Linked DNA regions of Homo sapiens: region 1 is linked to region 2. Evidence: promoter capture Hi-C in human tissues and cell types (Jung and others, 2019). All regions are on one chromosome and are shown on one strand. The core of a region is centred on a gene start or on the middle of the fragment in contact, and the rest is flanking DNA. Distances in the headings are between cores, read along the strand shown.

Region 1 (4,708 bases), core at 1,027-3,526, 130 kb before region 2:
ATTTTGGGAGGCTGAGGTGGACAGATCACCAGGTCAGGAGTTTGAGACCAGTCTGGCCGACACAGTGAAACCCCGCCTCTACTAAAAATACAAAAAATAAGCCGGGTGTGGTGGTGTGCGCCTGTAATTCCAGCTACTCGAGAGGCTGAGGCAGGAGAATAGTGTGAACCCAGGAAGTGGAGGTTGCAGTGAGCCGAGATCACACCATTGCACTCCAGCCCGAGTGACAGTGCGAGGCTCTGTCTCAAAAAAAAAAAAAAAAAAGGACAATATGAGAAATACTCTATTTTAAAACAAAGACTATTCCTCAAAAACATCAAGGTCAAAAAAAAAAAAAAAAGACAAAAGCTGAGGAACTGTTCCAGATTAAATGTGACTGAAGACACATGAGGGCTAAATGAAATACCTGATCCTGGATGGGATGATGTACGAGAGTAACAAAGTGCCACAAAGGACATTATGGAATCAACTGATAAAACTGGAATATGGAAGGTTAAATTTAATAAAACTGCTAGCTATACTATGGTTTTATAGAATATCCTTATTTTGGGGAACTACTTAAGTTTATTTGTGGGAAAAGGTATTTCTTTGATATATGCAACTTACTCTAACATGGTTTAAGAAAAACCTATTGCATACTGCACACACAGACCCCCAACACACAGAGTGCAAATGATAAAGCAAATGGTACAAAATGTTAACAATGGGTGTATTTCAAAAAACATTAGTATGCTTTGTGCTAATCTTGCAACTTTATAAATTTGAAATTACTTCCAAATAAAAATTGTTGAAAAGCCACAAAATTTTTTTTTTAATTGTAAAAATATAGAACATACTCATGCCTGTAATCCCAGCACTTTGGGAGGCCAAAGCAGGAGGATCACGAAGTCAGGAGTTAGAGACCAGCCTGGCAAAGATGGTGAAACCCTTTTCTCTACTAAAAATACAAAAATTAGCTGGGCGCAGTGGCAGGCGCCTGTAATCCCAGCTACTTGGGAGGCTGAGGCAAGAGAATTGGTTGAACCCTGGAAGCGGAGGTTGCAGTGAGCCGAGATTGCACCACTGCACTCCAGCCTGGGCGACAGAGCAAGACTCCATCTCAAAAAAAAAAAGAAGTAGAACATAAAGCTACATTTTCCCGTTTTGTTTTTATGTTTTTAAAGCTAGTCAGGTGAAGCGGGGGAGTGGAAAATCCCCCTATGTTCTTCACCTATAAAAATGGAATGCTATAAAATACTCTAAAACAGAAGAGGTCAAACCATTTCACACCTCTCTCATTAAAGCATCTGCATTAATTATTTTATTAGCTACCTCATAAAGTTCAAATTCTTCAAATTCTGTAATGGCCATTGGAAGATAAAAGAAACACAACAAGGCAAAGGAAAGACATCAGTGATAACAAGAACAAAACAGCTTTCATTTTTCTAATGCACAGATTCCACACCAAAAAAAGGTTTAGAGGAGCTATGAAGCACCTAACTTCCTATTGAACATAATATTTTAAAAGATAAGCTTAGGGGCCAGGCGCGGTGGCTCACGCCTGTAATCCCAGCACTTTGGGAGGCCGAGGCAGGCGGATCACGAGGTCAGGAGATTGAGACCATCCTGGCTAACACGGTGAAACCCCATCTCTACTAAAAATACAAAACTTAGCCAGGCGTGTTGACGGTCACCTGTAGTCTCAGCTACTCGGGAGGTTGAGGCAGAAGAATGGCGTGAACCCAGGAGGCAGAGCTTGCAGTGAGCCGAGATTGCGCCACTGCACTCCAGCCTGGGTGACAGAACGAGAGTCCATCTCAAAAATAAAAATAAAAATAAGCTTAGGGTAAAACTCATCCCAACTGACTTGTCTGTTTTGCGTTAAACTTACATACAGTCAAGTCACAAGGGTGAATAATGCTGTATCACGGCCGGGCAAAGTGGCTCATGCCTGTAATCCCAGCACTTTGGGAGGCCGAGGTGAGTGGATCACTTGAGGTCAGGAGTTCGAGACCAGCCTGGACAAGATGGTGAAAGCCCATCTCTACTAAAAATACAAAAATTAGCTAGGCATGGTAGCGGGTGCCTGTAATCCCAGCTACTTGGGAGGCTGAGGCAGAAGAATAGCTTGAACCTGGGAGGCGGAGGTTGAAGTGAGCCGAGATGGCGCCATTGCACTCCAGCCTGGGTGACAAAAGCGAAAAACTCCTTCTCAGAAAGAATAAATAAATTTTAAAAATAATGCTATATCATAATAAGACTGTTTTAAAATCAGACCAAACTGCCTAAACTAATATTGGAACACTGGTAAAAATAGTTTTAATCTTAGAAGAGACCTCCCAAAGCTGTATTTTAATTTACTACTTTCTCTCTCATGAGGGAGATTTTTTTTAAAGCACAAAACAAAGAAACTTACAGTTCATCTCGTTGTCTCTGGGACAGCACCATCTTGGCTGTAATGTCAAGCTTATCTGATATAGTGGTATGTCCCTCCTTTGGGAAATCAAAAAGCTTTTTGATCCGTGGACTTATAATTTAAATATGCCACTAAGTGTCTTCCACACAGGGGAAAATGATTCTTTCACAAATGAATCCAACTAGTAACCAGAAGATATTCAACAAGTAAGATTCATTCCACCTAAGGAGAAAGAGAAGAAAAAAAAAGATTATTTCACTTAAAATTTATTTCTAAATTATTAGTTACAGTACTCATTTTCAAAGATAAATTTTATTGTGATGTTAGTATAAATATTAGATGATGATTTTCCACTTATAGTGAAAGTCAACTAATGTCAAAAACCATACTGTTTTGTCTTTTAAATTAATAATTCAATGAGCCAAAACAGCATTACTTTTAAATTTAACATACATTTACCCACTCCCAATCATGTTAACCTGCCAGATACATTTGATTTCAAATATTAACATGTAACTCTAAACGAATGTAATTCTCTCTTAGAGACAAAAAGTAAAATTTCAAATTTACAAAAAAGGTATAAAAGGTAAAACAGATAAGGGTTTCATGAACTGCACAAGCCGAACAGTGCCAACTATAACTGAAGTAACCTTCAAGGTTGAGTGTTAGTCACCAATAACCTTAGAATGGCCGGTATTTATAACATACACTACTTAGCAATCTTACGCTTTTTATTGTTTTTTTGGAGACAGGTTCTCACACAGGTTGGAGTGCAGTGGCATGATCACAGCTTATTGCAGCCTTCCCCCTCTGGGCTTAAGCGATCCTCCCACCTCAGCTTCCCAAGCAGCTGGGACGACAGGCACACACCACCATGCCCAGCTAATTCTTAAATTTTTTTTTTGTAGAGACAGGTCTCCCTACATTGCTGGTCTCAAACTCCTGTATTCATGGGATCCTCCTGCCTCAGTCTCCCAAAGTGCTGGAATCTTATGCTCTCTTAACCAATGTACCTAATTAAGAAATGTATTTGAGATGGTCTTACTTAAAATAGAGGCTACTGGTATATATAAAATTTGATTGGAAGAGGCAATTCAAAGCAATAAAAAAATCATCCTCCAAATGATATGAAATTAACATATAATGAAGATCCTGTGGGACAACCAATCTAGAAACCTATCATGGACAGAAGAGTTAAGGACCATTTCCTGAGTACCTTTCAAATGCCATTCCAGTCACTGCTCCAGGCACTGAGAATACAGTAATGAATAAGCCAGTGAAGAAAGAAGAATGAGAGGCGGGGTGTGGTGGCTCACATATGTAATTAATCCTAGTACTTTGGGAGGTTAAGGCAAGAGGATCACTTGAGCCCAGGAGTTCAAGACCAGCCTGGGAAACACAGGAGACCCCGTCTCTACAGAAAATTTTAAAAATTAGGTAGGTGTGATGGTGCATGCTTACTTGAGAAGCTAAGGCAGGAGGAATGCTTGCTACCCAAGAGTTCAAGGTTATGGAAAGCTACGATCATGCCATTGCACTCCAGCCTAGGTGACAAAGCGAGACCCAATTTCTTTTAAAGGAAAAAAAAATGCATACCTTCGGGTTTCAAATATGAGCCCTGAGGCCAGGCGTGGTGGCTTATGTCTGCAAACCTAGCACTTTGGGAGGCTGAGGTGGGCAGACCACTTGAGGTGAGGAGTTTGCGACCAGCCTGGCCAACACGGTGAAATCTCGTCTCTACTAAAAATACAAAAATTTGCGAGAAATTGCTTGAACCTGGGAGACAGAGGTTGCAGTGAGCCAACATGCTACTGTACTCCAGTCTGGGCAACAGAGGAAGAGTCCGTCTCAAAAACAAACAAACGAAAAACGAACATGAGCCCTGAGTGAAAAAGTGACAGCTCAGGTGCTCGCTATGGCAACTGCTATTTCATTAGAGATCCTTATCTGAAGAACAATTCTAGTAAATATAAGCAGGAATTTATTTTATAATCCTTAAGGATTCTTCTGACCTGGAGCCCAGCTAACTACAAATGATAGCTGAAAGCCATCACTATCACTCCATCTAAATTCTGAGAAATATGGTTGGAATCAGTAAGAACTAGTGGAACTGGAACCAAACACAACAGACAAGCCAGTAAACCATACTTCTTTGGTACTTAACAACTCCCAATTATTCAAGTCTCACTTTTCTTCATACTGTTTCTTTTTTGAGATGGGGTCTTATTTTGTTGTCCAGGCTGGCGTACAGTGGCAGCATAATCATGGTTCATTGCAGCCTCAACCAAGCTGGGCTCAGCCTCTTGAGTAGCT
Region 2 (4,571 bases), core at 17-2,516:
GTAATCTCAGCTACTCAGCTACTTGGGAGGCTGAGGCAAGAAAATCGCTTGAACCCAGGAGGCAGAGGTTGCATGCAGTGAGCCGAGATGGCGCCATTGCACTCCAGCCTGGGCAATAAGAAACTCCATCTCGGGGGAAAAAAAAAATGTCATCCTACTCTGCTAGACAAATTACATGGAAAGGCCACGTGGACAGGGAGAGAACTTGGACTACAGGGAGAGAGACCCAGTTCTTTCAGCGGAACCAGCCCCCACTTGTTGCTATGACCACTGGCAAGACCAGCAGAACGGGTGGGCTAATCCCAGCCCAGATTGCAGAACTGTGAGCAAGTAAAATGGTGGTTGTTTTAAGTCTTACGTTTTGGGGCGGTTTGTTACACAACAGATTATGAAAACACCTCCTCAGCTTTCCTTGGGTGACTACTGGTACTCACTTGTGTATAAGTCTCCATTCCTTAATCCTTACTATCTCCCAATTTTATGGTAATAGTTTGCCAGAAGCGTTCACATTAACGACGAGGACGTAGGCAGGCCCCCCCTTTTTTTTTTTTTTTTGAGACAGAGTCTTGCTCTTTCGCTCAGGCTGGAGTGCAGTGGTGCGATCTTGGCTCACTGCAACCTCCGCTTCCCGGATTCAAGCGATTCTCCTGCCTCAGCCTCCCGAGTAGCTGGGATTACAGGCGCCCGCCACCACGCCCGGCTAATTTTTGTATTTTTAGTAGAGACGGGGTTTCACCATGTTGTCCAGGCTGGTCTTGAACTCCTGACCTCAGGTGATCTGCCCGCCTCAGCCTCCCAAAGTGCTGGGATTACAAGCGTGAGCCGCCGCGTCCGGCCGGATCCTCAGTTCTTTCGCTGTAAACGAGAGTACTCTTCCCCAACCCACAGGCTTATATCTCTTACAATTCAGTGAGTGAGACATCGGCTGAGGACACACCTGTTGCACAAAAAGGGCTCACTGCACGCCATCACACCCAAGTCTCGTACCCTCATCTTCATAACCTGCCCAATCCCAGTGAGTGTGAGAGGTAAGTCTGCAGCAGGGCCCGGAAAACTTGTTTCTTTTTCTTTTAAATAAGTTTTCTCGCGAATTCGAACGCATGTCCTCCTCCTGCCATACCTCAAAGGACTCCGCTCGTCACCACGCCCCCGCGCCTTCTGTTAGGAGCAGCAAACCCCAGGTGTCGCGAGGGTTTCTTCTTTCTTCAAGATCAGCCACAGGTCGCGCGAGAGGGATGTGTCCAATCACGAGGCTAGATGGCTTCACAAGATGGCGGCGCGCTGGGAGCGTATCATCTGCGTTTCTAGGAGCTTCGCTATGCGGCTGCTTTAAGATTCTAGGGTTGTACAGGCCCACGCCAGACACGACGTCTGGCAGGAACCTCGGCCTCAGAGGTGGGTCACTTATATCTCTCACGCAGATTTACTATCATGGGTCACTTAACCCGTGGATCACACGGGTTCCTCATTCTTGAGTTTTGGGCTAGTGAGGTGCCGACTTCGGGGTCTAGGAGGGGAGACCTGATGTGGCTGTGTGTGCGCACGCGGGGGTGTTGAGAGTGGATGAGTGGGAGGAGTTGGCGAATAGAATAGAGACTAGGACTGAAGTAGGAAAGACTCCCCGGTGTTTAGGAGGTTTAGAGAGATCCAAAACTGAGGCGGGAAGACAAACTGAGCTGATAAAATGAGGGCATGGAAAGAACGGCAGTGGCAGGACTAGTGGGAAACGTCGGATTTATGAGAGAAGGCGAAGAGAGAAGATGTAGATTGGTGTGGAAGTGGGAGGGATCTGTGCAGAAAGAATTTGAAGTTCTGAAATTGGAATTTAGACTGTTTTACAGGCTGTGTATCAAGAGAGTGGTAGTTGAAGAGGGTTAATGGTCAAGAGGAACCAAGGAAACAGAAGCATGGAGATGAGAAAGAAAAAAAAAAAAAGGGAAAGCCTCATTCTCAGGGTTCTACTATTAACTGTGGCTTTCTGGACTGACTCAAGTAACCGGGAAGAAAAGTTCCAGTCCATGGGCTGAGCTTTTTTTGAAACTCAGTGAGGGTGCTTTGTGTCGGTGGTCCAGACAGGGAAGAGTTCTATCGTGGTTTCAATCAACAAATACTTGAGTGCCTACTCTCTTAGGCCCTATTTTAGGCGTTGGGATATGCGGTGAACAAGACAGACAAAATATTTACCCTCTTGAAACTTACTGACGGGAGATTTTTTAAAGTAAGTAAAATATATGGAATGCCAGATGGGTAAATTCTGTGTAGAAAATTGAAGCTAGAGCCTGGGTAGCAAAGCCAGACTCCCTTTCTACAAAAAATGAAGTAAATTAACCAGGTGCAGTGCTCTGTACCTGTAGTCCCAGCTGCTTGGGAGGCTCAGGCGGGAGGATTGCTTGATCTCAGGAGTTGGAGGCTGCAGGGAGCTATGATTCCATCATTGCACTCTGGGCAACAGAATGGAAGACCTTGTCTCAACAAGAAGAAAAAAAAAAGAATTGATGCCCAGTTAAACTCTGAAGAATAGGTTATATTTAGCTAAGAACTCATTGCCTATATTGGGAGGTTAGTTAGAAAAGAAGTGGTTGTATTTACTCATTCTGTATCTGTTCTGACCAGAAAAGTTGAATAATGTAGGAAATGAATCGAATCTGCCATGTCTGTAATTTAATTTGTTTCACATATATTCAGAGTATTATGTTGTGTGTGCACTGATGTCAGCTATGTAGTCTGTAGAATTTTCCTTAATGTGTGGCAGAGCCCTAACATGCCACTGTCTCTTGAAGTCACTGTTAGGATATGGTGACTAAAGTCAGCAACAATGTATATTTCAAAATAGCTAGGAGAGGGCTTGAAATGTTACCAATACATAGATATAAAAAATACTCAAAGTGGTGAATACCCCATATACTCTGACTTGATCAGCACACATTCTATGCGTGGAACAAATACCGCATAAATGTCACATGTCCCCCATAAATTGGGAAAATATTTTCCATCAGTTTAAAGAAATTACTCTTAGTTTACTTTTTTTTGTTGCTTGCCAGAATCACAAGAAAGAACATTTTCTTTTTCTTTTTTTTTTTTGAGACAGTTTCACTGTCACCAAGGCTGGAGTGCAGTAGCACGATCTTGGCTCACTGCAACCTCCACCTCCTGGGTTCAAGTGATTCTCCTGCCTCAGCCTCCCGAGTAGCTGGGATTACAGGCACCCACCACCACGCCCAGCTAATTTTTTTTTTTTTTTTGAGACGGAGTGTTGCTCTGTCACCAGGCTGGAGTGCAGTGGCGTGATCTTGGCTCACTGCAACTTCGGCCTCCTGAATTCAAGTGATTCTCCTGCCTCAGCCTCCCAAGTAGCTGGGACTTCAGGCACATGCCACCACACCCAGCTAATTTTTGTATTTTTAGTAGAGATAGGGTTTCACTATGTTGGCCAGGATGGTCTCCATGTTGGCCAGGCTGGTCTCACAAACTCCTGACCTCAGGTGATCCTCCAGTCTTGGCCTCCGAAAGTGTTGGGATTATAGTCGTGAGCGACTGTGCCCGGCCAACACTTTAATTTTGGATATTTTCTTTTTAATAAAGTCTATTATTTGTATTTGTTTATTTTGAGACAGGGTCTCACTGTGTGGCCCAGGCTGGACTGGAACTCCTGGGCTCAAGCTATCCTTGGCATCCCTAGTAGCTAGGAACACAGGCATGCACCACCTTGCCCAGTTGATGTTTTCTTGAGAACTGGGGGCCATCCTAGTTTTATGCTCCCCTCTTTCCTGATGGTCAGTAAAGGGTATGTCAATGCTAGGAAATTAAGACAGGTATATAGTCATTTTTAGTCATAGTGTGAGGGGCAAAATGTAGTAACAGTATGCTGAAAAACTTTCAGGTGACTACTAATCCCCTCAAATTCTGAATTGTTTACTCAAAAAATATTTATTGTATACAGGTTGCTGGGGGTATAGTAAAGACTAGGATGGATATGGTTGCAGGTCTATGTGTGACATATGCAAATTAATTACACACCCAGTAGTAAACTGAAGATCTCTGAGGGAGAAGCAGCACAGGGTGCTTTGAAAGCGTGTAGATGGGCATCTGATTGGATTGTGGGGTCAGAGAAAGGCTGCCTGAGTAAATGATGCCTAGGGTGTGATTTGAGTAGCTAGTGGACCTTCAGAGGTGAAAGGCGATGGTGGGAGGTTGAGGAGAGTCTTACAGGCAGTAAGAATAGGAGATGGTGAGACAGACTACCATGCAGCAGAGAAAATGGAAGAAGACCAGTATGTCTGGAAGGGGAAAGTGGCAACAAATGAAGTTGGAGGGACAGATAAGGCCTGGATTATGCCTGCCTTTTTAATGATTTTAGACTTTTTTAGCTTAATAGCTTTGGGATGCCACTGAAGGGATTTAATAAGGAAATGTTCACATTTGCATGGGGGGAGTGGCTTGTCTGCTGAGTGAAAAGTGGCTGGTAGAGGGCAAGAGTGTTTATGAAGAGATCAGTTTGAGACTCTTAGAGCAACCCAAGAAAGACATGATAATGACCTGGGCCAGAGAGGTGGTGTTGTGAAGGGTGAAAA

What was found. The method cuts DNA at HindIII sites, captures the fragments that hold promoters and counts their contacts. A contact is called where the count stands out against the background at its distance.
Region 1: a fragment that was not itself captured here is called in contact with the fragment with the promoter of METTL16 in region 2 in 2 of the 25 tissues and cell types used here (H1 embryonic stem cells and dorsolateral prefrontal cortex).

The regions. Positions count from the first base shown.
Region 1 is chr17:2,636,008-2,640,715 of GRCh38, reverse strand. PAFAH1B1 (platelet activating factor acetylhydrolase 1b regulatory subunit 1) reads right to left here. Exons shown (of 11, transcript NM_000430.4): 2 at 2,396-2,617. The coding sequence starts at 2,427. Among named protein-coding and RNA genes, the nearest start is that of PAFAH1B1, 45 kb to the right of the region's middle. The HindIII fragment of the contact is 4,031 bases long and covers 261-4,291 here.
Region 2 is chr17:2,508,583-2,513,153 of GRCh38, reverse strand. It overlaps METTL16 (methyltransferase 16, RNA N6-adenosine), which reads left to right and starts at 1,266. Exons shown (of 10, transcript NM_024086.4): 1 at 1,266-1,395. RefSeq lists enhancers at 1,066-1,115, 1,186-1,395. The HindIII fragment of the contact is 24,606 bases long and covers 1-4,571 here.